2 separate regions of the Homo sapiens genome follow, and region 2 is linked to region 1. Evidence: promoter capture Hi-C in human tissues and cell types (Jung and others, 2019). All regions are on one chromosome and are shown on one strand. Each heading gives the region's core, a stretch centred on a gene start or on the middle of the fragment in contact. The rest is flanking DNA. Distances are from core to core; before and after follow the strand shown.

What was found. The method cuts DNA at HindIII sites, captures the fragments that hold promoters and counts their contacts. A contact is called where the count stands out against the background at its distance.
Region 2: a fragment that was not itself captured here is called in contact with the fragment with the promoter of TSGA13 in region 1 in 1 of the 25 tissues and cell types used here (small bowel).

The regions. Positions count from the first base shown.
Region 1 is chr7:130,682,982-130,689,041 of GRCh38, forward strand. TSGA13 (testis specific 13) reads right to left here and starts at 3,564. Exons shown (of 8, transcript NM_052933.4): 1 at 3,281-3,564; 2 at 2,207-2,379; 3 at 613-691. The coding sequence starts at 2,229. The HindIII fragment of the contact is 12,595 bases long and covers 1-6,060 here.
Region 2 is chr7:130,629,544-130,635,603 of GRCh38, forward strand. The region is part of intron 5 of COPG2 (coat protein complex I subunit gamma 2); the gene reads right to left. Among named protein-coding and RNA genes, the nearest start is that of COPG2, 36 kb to the right of the region's middle. The HindIII fragment of the contact is 9,308 bases long and covers 1-6,060 here.

The DNA of each region.
Region 1 (6,060 bases), core at 2,314-4,813:
GAAGTTAGGAAAAACTTATTTGGGAGAAAGGTATGAAGACCTTTTCTCTTACAGGTTTTTTAAAAAAAATAATTTTAGGGGGAAATTCCCTGGTGAAAATGTTTTTACTCCTGAAGTTTTTTGAAGTATTGCATATCTGTTCCAAATTAGTCTCTAGCAGTTGACTAAACCCACAAGATTGTCCAAATTGGAATGTGTTTTTAGTTTTGTTATGTTGAATTTCACTATCTGTGGCTGATTAAATAAAAGTTGGCCTGGAAAATTCACTTGAATGTGGTAAACATGGGAAAACAACCAAGATACCCAGTGGAGTTTTGCTACAAGAGGTAGTTGTAAAGTCTGCGTAAGTTAGGGTTTGACACGCTCTTACTCCCTAAGATAGGTTTCTGCTTCCTGGGTTTTATGTCCTGATTTGTTGCTGATGTGTCCTGTTCCTTCTTTTTCTGTGCTCTATTTCTCTTCAATAACATTTGACAAGTTAACCTTGTTTTCCATATACATTTTTACTCCTTTTTGCTTTTCAATAGGGAAGTTTGTGATATCCAGCTTATTAAGTACACTAAGCAGCTCCAAAGAAAAATTAAACATTGAACACTTACTAACACTCCTTACCTCTTTGCTATTGACAACCATTCCTTTCTCACGTTTAGCTGAGCTATTTTCTGAAGTCTTTGATTTGCCATTTTGAAACCTGAAAAAGAGGCAGAACATCCGGTTGCACTTTCTGGCTCAGAGGCCTGGACTTCTGCATATTGTCAGTCTCCCTCAACAAAGTTTGGAAGCCTAACTCAGACAAGTCCAATTTAGGTGATCACATCAGTAATTGACTAAGTAGCAAAAAAATCAGACTCATTATCCAGCCTGCATGCTAGGGAAAAGCAAGACTTCAGTTTGGAGAGTTAAACAAGTGGGACCTTTGGATGACTCAGTGACATCCATTGAGTTGGTTTCTTCTAAAATAAGGATTTTAGACCATTCACAGAAGTGCTCTAACGACTGCTTAAGGAAATTATTTTGGGAAGTTAGATCCTCACAATACCCTTAAAAACCACCTACTATTTTGAATACTTACCTGCCTATTCTTCTTCCACATGGAAATTGCCCTGTTTTTGCCAGTGATTGGCCAATGATTAGCCAATGAATCTGTGAGAAGGAATATAGTTAATAGAACCTCACAACTAAGTTTCCAATTCTTGTTGACCTTGCTTGGATTACTGGCTCTCATGTCTTCCTAACCACATCTCTGAAGACTTCTCTTCTTAGAACTAGGGTAGTAAAAATAATCAACAATGGCAAATATTTCTGTACTCTACTCTGTTACCCTCACCCTAATACCAATTCTCTTTGCAGAAAATAGGGTGAAGCAGCTTCTATTCTTTGCTATTCTTTTTAAACCCATTTGCTGCCAGAACATAATGTAAAATGCTCCTCAGTAAGATTTGGTTAATGATTAAGATAAATGGCCTGCTTCTTCCTTGGAGATAGTTCCATTGGGTGGTTAAATTAGCTCAAAGTAAGAAGAATTATGCAACTATCTCAACTAGACCTCTCTCCTTTAAAAATGAGGATAGCAGAATAAGGACCAAAATAAAAGTAGAAATAGCCACGCTATGTCGTTTGTAGGTCAACTGGCTATAGCGTGCTACAAATAATCCCCAAATCCATGATTCTATCCCATTCAAGCATAGCTACCTTCCATCTGTTGCTGGCCACCAGTTGCACCATTAACTCAGGTCAGAGGTCTTAAAAACGGTCCCAACAGAGTAGGTGACCCATGATGGAGAGACCAAAATTCATCCCAACTTAACATCTTAAAGTTTGTGCCCTTTCATTAAGTTATCTAATAATTAGTAATACAGTATAATATTTATTGTAGCACTTTTCAAAATGATTCTTTGATACCTAAAAGGAAGCACAGAATCCCGGATACTCTTCTTCAGGGCCAATTTAAGGCATAGAACTATATGAAAAGCGCTTCTTTAGCCCAACAGCGTCCATCTGGAACAAGCTGGTGCTTTCTTTTTGACAAAAGCAACCATGAAATACAGACCAAGATCCGGTTTTTGATCCAGGGACAATCAGTCAATTAAAATATGTTTAATGAGAGTCTACTCTGTGACCAGCACCATTCAACGTGCTGTGGGCTATGCAATAAGTTAATATAAAGTGGTGTTTATAACTTAGTTGGGCAAACAAGACTACATACTTGGTTTGTCTCTTTTGGCTCATTGCTGTTGACTGCTAGTTGGCCAACCCAAGGCAGGTATTCACCCAAGGCCAAATTCAGGTCTCTAAATAGTCCACGTTCTGCAGGGGTTCAATTCAATCCAAATATTCTTTCCTTAGCACACAGTGTGTACTCATGCCCCATTCTTGAGCCTGTATGGGAAACAAGAAAAGACTGATAGGTGCTATTGTAGATGTAGAAAATGCACAAGACATGATGATGCTTGCTCTTAGAAGTTAAATTTATTTCACAAACGGGGGAGGTGGGAGAAAGCGATTATCCAATGTAAAACAATAGTGACAAATACATGCTAATATATTAGGTAAGTCACTTTATCTCTTGGGGTCTCAATTTCCTTATCTGCAAAATGGAAAGTATTAACTAAATGATTTAAAGGTGACATTCTAATTCCATGATAGTGATGAGATTTAACTATAAAAAGATCTGAAATAAAATTAATTCACATATGTCCGTAGAAGGCTAAAGGTGGAGAAGCAGCCATCTTCCAATTTTCTCCTCCTGTCAACAAAGCCATGCTCATTCATAGATTAGGCCTGAGAAGCTGGGAAAAGTGTGTGTATATATTGGGAATGGGAGGATTGCTATACTTTTTGATATAGACAATTAGAAATGGAAGATACAAGCTGATAAGGTAGAACCAACCATTTAGAGAAAAGAAAGGTCAGTGAGCCTTGGGATGTTTCCTAAAGGTTGTGGAGCTTGAGCAGAACCTCGCAGGATAGTGTATGAAGTAGTCTAATTGGAAGATTATTTGTCGTTGTTAAGTAGGAAGAAATAAAAGCAGGTAGGTCGAATGGAGTCACATTATAGGGGCCTTGACAATTAAGTAGAACTTTGAAAAGACCTACATCAGCCCAAATTCCTATGAAGCCCACAGGTTTAGTGGAAAGCCCATAGACAAGGGTTTATGTCTAACTTGATTGTCTAGACAAACCCTAAAGATGATTTCTAGAGTTTATGACAAGACTGAGCTAAACCCTTAAAGTTCCCTTCTAGGGAAATAGAGTAATAAGCGTTTCACCCTTTTCTCACCTTTAATTTTTCTGGAATTGTAAGTCCAATTCATGTATATGGTGAAACTAAAATAAAAATGAGCTGTCAAATTGGGCAGTATAAGTCTTGGGTTGCTAGTCTGCAGGCCAGGCTGAAAAACAAATCACACAAACACTAAAACTACATTCAAAATAAGAATGTAAAAACCTGGTGTACACTACCTTTAAGAACATCACGAAATCATAGTTTGGTGAAGAAGGCAAAGTCTTTGGCATGGGAACTTTCCATTTTGAAAATATCGTAATTATTCTTTTCTGGATTCTGGAGGAGACAGAGGGAATTTGTGATGAATAGGCAATCTAGAATGCTGAGGTGTTCTGTGTTGGAGACAGAGAATGAAAAGGCCAAAACTTAAAGGCATATTTAAACAAAATCTGCCAATCTCTTATTTTGCCAGCCTATGACTTCTCTACACACACACACACACACACACACACACACACACACACACACACACATCTTCACCATCTCTTAATCTACCTCTACCTAAGCCAATGTTTTCACTGCATTCTTCAAATACAGTGAGCATTTTTTCTTATTCCCCATACTTAAAATGCTGTCCCCAATCTCTTCAGCCATTTGAATCTTCTCCTTCTCCTTCTCCTTCTCTTTCTTCTGACGGAGCCTCACACTGTCACAAGGCTGGAGTGCAGTGGCACAGTCTCAGTTCACTGCAACCTCTGTCTCCCTGGTTCAAGTGATTTTCCTGCCTCAGCCTCCAGAGTAGCTGGGACTACAGGCGCCTGCCACCATGCCCAGCTAATTTTTGTATTTTTAGTAGAGACGGGGTTTCACCATGTTGGCCAGGATGGTCTCGATCTCTTGACCTTGTGATCCACCCACCTCAGCCTCCCAAAGTGCTGGGATTACAGGCGTGAGCCACCATGCCCAGCCCTGAATCTTCTTTCTTTATGTTACTACTCAGGTCATTCCTTTAAAGAGAAGATTTTCTAGATTAATGCAATCCCAAACTCTAGACTATAGTCACTGGGTTTTGTGCATGTCATTGTATAGTGTCTTGTAGTTCTGTTTTCACTTTTCTTATGTGCGGGTCTTGTCTGCCTCTTAAGCTGTGAGTCCCTTAAAAGTGGAAATGTAAATTTTAAACATATTTGTGCCCCCCTCCCAGTGCTTTGTATCTTATGCATTCAAAACTAGTGTTTGCTTATTTCAATATATTTGCTGAACATTTATGACATATTAGACACTCTCCTAGGTGATGAGAACAAAGCATAAATCAGATGTAATTCTTGAGCTCCTTTAGGAGCTCACAGTTTAGCCAGGAAGAGAGACAAAGAAACGGTTGATTGCAACAGAGTAGAATGCCAAATTAGATCTAAATTTAGGGTACTATGGAAGCAATGAGGAAGGGGACTTAACCCATACTGAGAAGAGACTGAGAGAGATTTGGAACTACTGCCTAAACTGAGCTGGGGAAGATGAGTGTGAATTAACCAGGTGATGAGAGGACAGACATTTGAGAAAGAGGGAGAAGCAGAGGCAAAAACATGAGAATACAACAAAGCCTGGCTTATTTAGGGGAATTGAAAATACTGTAATTGCAATATGCCAGGAACATAAGATTTAGGGGAAGGGTAGTGAGAGGTGAGACTAGAGAGGAAGACAGGATCCAAATCCTAAAATGAACTATTTGATAGGAAGTTTGTGGGTTATTCTGAGTAATGAAGCGCTAACAAGAGATTTTAAATGAGGTATAATCTCCTTATTGAACAATATATATTTTAGAAATACAAAAATAGTGGCATGTGAACTATAGATTGGAAAGACAGAAGAACTATAGATTAGAAAGATGCAAAGAGGTCCTTGAGAAGTCTATGACAGTGCTGAGGAGGGGTTGAGAAATTATAAGGGTCTATAGCCATCACCAATTAGTGCCATTCACTCCTGCATCCTAGCTCTGGATGATTGATTCAAAGGTGGCCAACCAGGTTATACTAAGAATTTGAAAGTTTGCTAATGACCCACAGAGCTGTAAGATGATTGCACCTGAGCCACCTCATGTGGTATCCCAGGCTGGAAGACTCTGAGCTCTGAGCTCTACCTGCTGAGGTCCCCGGAGCTGCCCCAGATCTAGTCCTTCCTAAAGCAAGACTACACAATTTTCTCTTCAGTTCTGTGAGCTTTCCTAATATTCTTTCAAATAAATCCTTTATTTTCTTAGGGTTCATTTCTGCAGTTTATGACCAAAAAAAAAAAAAAAAAAACCTAATATGGGCTCTGAAGCAGGGTGTCCAATCTTTTGGCTTCCCTGGGCCACGTTGGAAGAATTGTATTGGACCACACATAAAATACTCTAACGCTAACAATAGCTGATGAGCTAAAACAAATCACACAAAAAAAACTCATAATGTTTTAAGAAAGTTTTTGAATTTGTGTTGGGCTGCATTCAAAGCCATCCTGGGCCACGTGTGGCCCATGGGCCATGGGTTGGACAAGCTTGCTCTAAAGCAAGGTAGTGGCAGTGAAGAGGGTTAAAAAAGGATATATGAAAGATGTTAGGAGGGTAGAATTAATAGAACTTGGTAACTAGTTGAATACATGAGATAAGGAATATAATCACATTTTTAGCTTTGTTACCTGAGTTAATGGAGGTGCAAGTTACCAAATTAGAGAACAAAGGGAATGGAGCAAGTTTGGGGGATAAATGATGAATTTTGTTTCTGGTCAGTTGAGTATGAGGCAGAGGTGAGGATGTTGTCTAGTAAGTAGTTTAAAATATGGGACTGGAGCTCAGGAGA
Region 2 (6,060 bases), core at 1,143-3,642, 55 kb before region 1:
GCCACCATGCCTGGCTAATTTTTTGTATCTTTAATAGAGAGGGGGTTTTGCCAAGTTGGCCAGGCTGGTCTCAAACTCCTGACCTCAGGTGATCCACCCACCTCGGCCTCCCAAAGTGCTGGGATTACAAGTTTGCGCCACCACGCCTAGCCCTTCTCCTGGAATTCTACATATGCTAGTCTGTTTGATATTCTCTCAGCTCTTGAAATTCTTTTTTAGGAAGTCTTCTTGTGTGTCAGTTTAGGCATTTTTATAGACCTATCTTCAGGTACATTTATTCTTTCTTTGGCTGTGTTAAGTCTACGAATGAATCTGAAAGCAATCTTCATCTCTGCTACTGTTTTTAATTACTAGCATTTTGTTTCTTTCTTTCCTTTCCTTTTTTTTTTTTCAGACAGAGTTTCGCTCTTGTCGCCCAGGCTGTAGTGCAATGGCGCAATCTCGGCTCACTGCAACCTCTGCCTCCCGGGTTCAAGTGATTCTCTCGCCTCAGCCTCCCAAGTACTGGGATTACAGACACGCGCCACCATACCTAATTTTTGTATTTTTAGTAGAGATGGGGTTTCACCATGTTGGCCAGGATGGTCTCGATCTCTTGACTTCATGATCCACCTGCCTTGGCCTCCCAAAGTGCTGGGATTACAGGTTTGAGCCACCGCACCCGGCCCCTATTTAGGTCTTATTTAATTTCTATCACCAATGTTTTGTAGTTTTTAGTCTATATATCTTATACATCTTTCATCAGATTCACCCCAAAGTATTTCATATTTTGATGCTACTGTAAACAGGATTAATTGCAACTTACAACTGCTCTTGGCAAGTATATACAACATAATTGATTTTTGCATATTGATCTTGTATTCTGCAAATTTGCTAAGCTCACTTATTACTTCCTGTAGCTTTTGTTGGATTCCACAAATTTTCTACATAGACAATGTCATCAGCAAAGAGTCTCAGTTTTCTTGTTCAAATTGTTTTTCCTTAATAATTTTTCTGTATACTTGCTCTATGTTTTTGAGAGATGAGTACTGAAATTTCCAGCTTTAATTGTGGATCTGTTGATTTCTCCTTTCAATTCTACCAATTTTTGTTTCAAGCACTGTGAAACTCTGTTATTAGCTCCATAAACAATATTACTTTGTCCTCTTGGTAAGCTGACCCCTTTATCCCTAGTAATATTATTTATTCTGGAGTCTACATTATCTGAAGACATACAGCTTCTTGTGATTACAGTTAGCATGGTATATCTTGCTTCATCTTTTTACTTCTAATCTATTTGTTTCTTTATATTTAAGGTATGTTTTTATAGGCAGCATAAAGTTGGATTTGGCTTTTTTAAGAAATCCAATCTGAGCTGGGCACAGTGGCTAATGCCTGTAGTTCCAACTACTTGGGAGGACCGCTTGAGCCCAGGGGTTTAAAGATGCAGTGAGCTATGATCATGTCACTGCACTGAGTGACCCCATCTCTTAAAAAAAATCCAATCTAGCCATCTTTCCCTTTTAATTGAAGTGTTTAGAATAGGTGCCTTTAATGTAATTATTGATATGGTTGGGTTGGAGTCTGTCATCTTGCTATTTCTTTTCCATTCATCTCATCTGGTTTTTGTTCCCTTTTCTTTTTCTTTTCTTTTTTTTTTTTTTTTTGAGATGGAGACTTGCTCTGTCACCCAGGCTGGAGTGCAGTGGCATCATCTGGGCTCACTGCAACCTCCGCCTCCCAGGTTCAAATGATTCTCCGAGTAACTGGGATTACAGGCACGTGCCATCACACCTGGCTAATTTTTGTATTCTTAGTAGAGATGGGGTTTCGCCATGTTGGCCAGGCTGGTCTCCAACTCCTGACCTCAGGCGATCCACCTGCCTCGGTCTCCCAGTGTGCTGGGATTACAGGTGTGAGCCACTGCACCTGGCCTGAATTTTGTTCCCTTTTCTTTTCCTCCCCAACCTTCTTTTGGGTGGAATATATGTTATGATTCTATTTAACTCTTTTGTTGGCTTATTAGCTATAATTCTGCATTGTTATTTTAGTGGTGGCTTTATACAGTAAATCTTTAACCTATTAGATTTTCTTCAAGTGCTAAAACACTTCATAAAGAGGATACAAACTTTATAGTAATAAAGTACCATTTCTCTTCTTTGCCTCATGCTATTTTTGTCACAGATTTTATTTTACATATGTTATAAACTCCATACTAAATTCTTTTCTTTAAGCAGTCAATTAACTTTTAAAATTACGTAAACAAGGAAAATTTCTTGTTTATCTACTCAGTTTAACATTTCCAGTATTCTTCATTTCTTTGCATAGATCCATATCTTCATTATCATTTTCATCCTGGTGAAAAAAATCCCTTTTATAATTAATGTGACTCTGTCAGAGATAAATTCTTTCAGCGGTTTTTAAGTCTGAAATTGCCTTTTTATCACCTTCACTTTTGAAAGTTATTTTCACTGGAAATCGAATTCTGGATTGACAGTTGTTTTCAGCTGTTGTTGTTTTCTTTAAGTACTATCCATATGTTGTTTTGGTGGGATCAATCTAGTGTCATCTCCCTTCAGCCTGAAAAAACTTCATTTACTATAATATTTACTGTAGAGCAGGTCTGCTGGTGACAAATACCTTTTAGTTTACCTACATCTGAGGAAGTCTTTATTTCACCTTCATTCCTGGAAGATATTTTCAGTGGATATGGTATTCTGAGTCATCACTTCCTTTCTTTCAGCACTTTAAAGTTGGTGTTCCACTGTTTTTAGACTTCCAGATTTTCTGATGAGAAACCCACAGTGATGTGTATATGTAATGAATCATGTTCCTCTTGGTGCTTTCAACAGTTTTCCTCATCTTTGGTGTTCAGCAGTTTCATTAAGTGACTGAGAGCAGAGTCCTTTGAATTTACCTTGTCTAAGTTTCACTTAGTTTCTTGAGTCTGTAAATTTATCTTTCTCCAAATTTGTAAGTTTTCAGTCATTATTTTCTCAAATTTTTTTTTCGCACCAATACCTTTCTCCTCTTCTTCAGGGACTTCAATGTCACAAATGTTAGGCCCTTTGATACAGTCTCACAGGCCAGTGAGGCTGTTTATTTTTGTTTTCTTTTTTCTCTCTCTCTTTTCAGTTGGGATTTATTTCTACTGGTTTATCTTTAAATTCACTAACCTGTTCCTCTGACATCTCCATTCTGCTACTGAGATGAACCAATGATTTTTTTTATTATTATTATACTTTAAGTTCTGGGATACATGTGCGGAACATGCAGGTTTGTTACACAGGTATACATGTGCCACGGTGGTTTGCTGCACCCATCAACCTGTCATCTACATTAGGTACTTCTCCTAATGATATCCCTCCTCTAGCCCCCCACCCCGAGACAGGCCCCGGTGTGTGATGTTCCTCTCCCTGTGTCCATGTGTTCTCACTGTTCAACTCCCACCTATGAGTGAGAACATGCAGTGTTTGGTTTTCTGTTCCCGTGTTAGTTTGCTGAGAATGATGGTTTCCAGCTTTATCCATGTCCCTGCAAAGGACATGAACTCATCCTTTTTTATGGCTGCATAGTATTACATGGTGTATATGTGCCACATTTTCTTTATCCAATCTATCATTGACGGGCATTTGGGCTGGTTCCAAGTGTTTGCTATTGTGAACAGTGCTGCAATAAACATACATGTGCATGTGTCTTTATAGCAGAATGATTTATAATCCTTTGGATATATACCCAGTAATGCGATTACTGGCTCTAAAGGTATTTCTGGTTCTAGATCCTTGAGGAATCGCCACACTGTCTTCCACAATGGTTGAACTAATTTACACTCCCACCAACAGTGTAAAGGCATTCCTATTTCTCCACATCCTCTCCAGCATCTGTTGTTTCCTGACTTTTTAATGATCGCCACTCTAAGTGGCATGAGATGGTATCTCATTGTGGTTTTGATTTGCATTTCTCTAATGACCAGTGATGATGAGCTTTATTTCATAATCTCTTCTTTTGAGAAGTGTCTGTTCATATCCTTCACCCACTTTTTGATGGGGTGGTTTTTTTCTTGCAAATTTAAGTTCTTGGTAGATTCTAGATATCAGCCCTTTGTCAGATGGATAGACTGCAAAAATTTTCTCCCATTCTGTAGGTTGCCTGTTCACTCTGATGATAGTTTCTTTCATTGTGCAGAAGCTCTTTAGTTTAATTAGATCCCATTTGTCTATTTTGGCTTTTGTTGCCATTGCTTTTGGTGTTTTAGTCATGAAGTCTTTGCCCATGCCTATGTCCTGAATGGTATTACCGAGGTTTTCTTCTAGGGTTTTTATGGTTTTAGGTCTTACATTTAAGTCTTTAATCCATTTTGAGTTAATTTTTGTATAAGGTGTAAGAAAGGGGTCCAGTTTGAGTTTTCTGCATATAGCTAGCCAGTTTTCCCAACATCATTTATTAAATAGGGAATCCTTTCCCCATTGCTTGTTTTTGTCAGGTTTGTCAAAGATCAGATGGTTGTAAATGTGTGGTGTTATTTCTGAGGCCTCTGTTCTTTTCCGTTGGTCTATGTATCTGTTTTGATACCAGTATCACGCTGTTTTGGTTACTGTATCCTTGTAGTATAGTTTGAAGTCAGGTAGCGTGATGCCTCCAGCTTTGTTCTTTTTGCTTAGGATTGTCTTGGCTATGTGGGATCTTTTTTGGTTCCATATGAAATTTAAAGTAGTTTTTTTCTAATTATGTGAAGAAAGCCAATGGGAGCTTAATGGGGATAGCACTGATTCTACACATTACTTTGGGCAGTATGGCCATTTTCACAGTATTGATTCTTCCTATCCATGAGCATGGAATGTTTTTCCATTTGTTTGTGTCCTCTCTTATTTCCTTGAGAAGTAGTTTGTAGTTCTCCTTGAAGAGGTCCTTCCCATCCCTTATAAGTTGAATTCCTAGGTATTTTATTCTTTGTAGCAATTGTGAATGGGAGTTCACTCATGATTTGGCTGTTTGTCTATTATTGATATATAGGAATGCCTGTGATTTTTGCACACTGATTTTGTACCCTGAGACTTTGCTGAAGTTGCTTATCAGCTTAAGGAGATTTCGGGCTGAGATGATGGGGTTTTCCAAATATACAATCATGTCATCTGCAAACAGAGACAATCTGACTTCCTCCTATCTGAATACCTTTATTGCTTTCTCTTGCTTAATAGCCCTAGCCAGAACTTCCAATAATATGTTGAATAGGAGTGGTGAGAGAGGGCATCCTTGTCTTGTGCCTGTTTTCAAAGGGAATGCTGCCAGCTTTTGCCCATTCAGTATGATATTGGCTGTGGGTTTGTCATAAATAGCTCTTATTATTTTGAGATACGTTCCATCAACACCTAGTTTTTTGAGAATTTTTAGCATGAAGGGGTGTTTAATTTTATCAAAGGCCTTTTCTGCATCTATTGAGATAATCATGTGGTTTTTGTCATTGGCTCTGTTTATGTGATGGATTACATTTGTTGATTTGTGTATGCTGAACCAGCCTTGCATCCCAGGGATGAAGCCAACTTGATCATACTAGATAAGCTTTTTGATGTGCTGCTGGATTCGGTTTGCCCGTATTTTATTGAGGATTTTCGCATCGATGTTCATCAGGGTTATTGGCCTGAAATTTTCTTTTTTTGTTGTGTCTCTGCCAGGTTTTGGTATCAGGATGATGCTGGCCTCATAAAATGAGTTAGGGAGGAGTCCCTCTTTTTCTATTGTTTGGAGCAGTTTCAGAAGGAATAGTACCAGCTGCTTTTTGTACCTCTGGTAGAATTCGGCTGTGAACCTGTCTGGTCCTGGGCTTTTTTTGGTTGGTAGGCTATTAATTACTGCCACAATTTCAGAACTTGTTATTGGTCTATTCAGGGATTCAACTTCTTCCTGATTTAGTCTCGGGAGGGTGTGTGTGTCCAGGAATTTATCCATTTCTTCTAGGTTTTCTAGTTTATTTGCATAGAGGTGTTTATAGTATTCTGTTATGGTAGTTTGTATTTCTGTGGGATCAGTGGTGATATCTTTTATCATTTTTTATTGTGTCTATTTGATTCTTCTCTCTTCTTT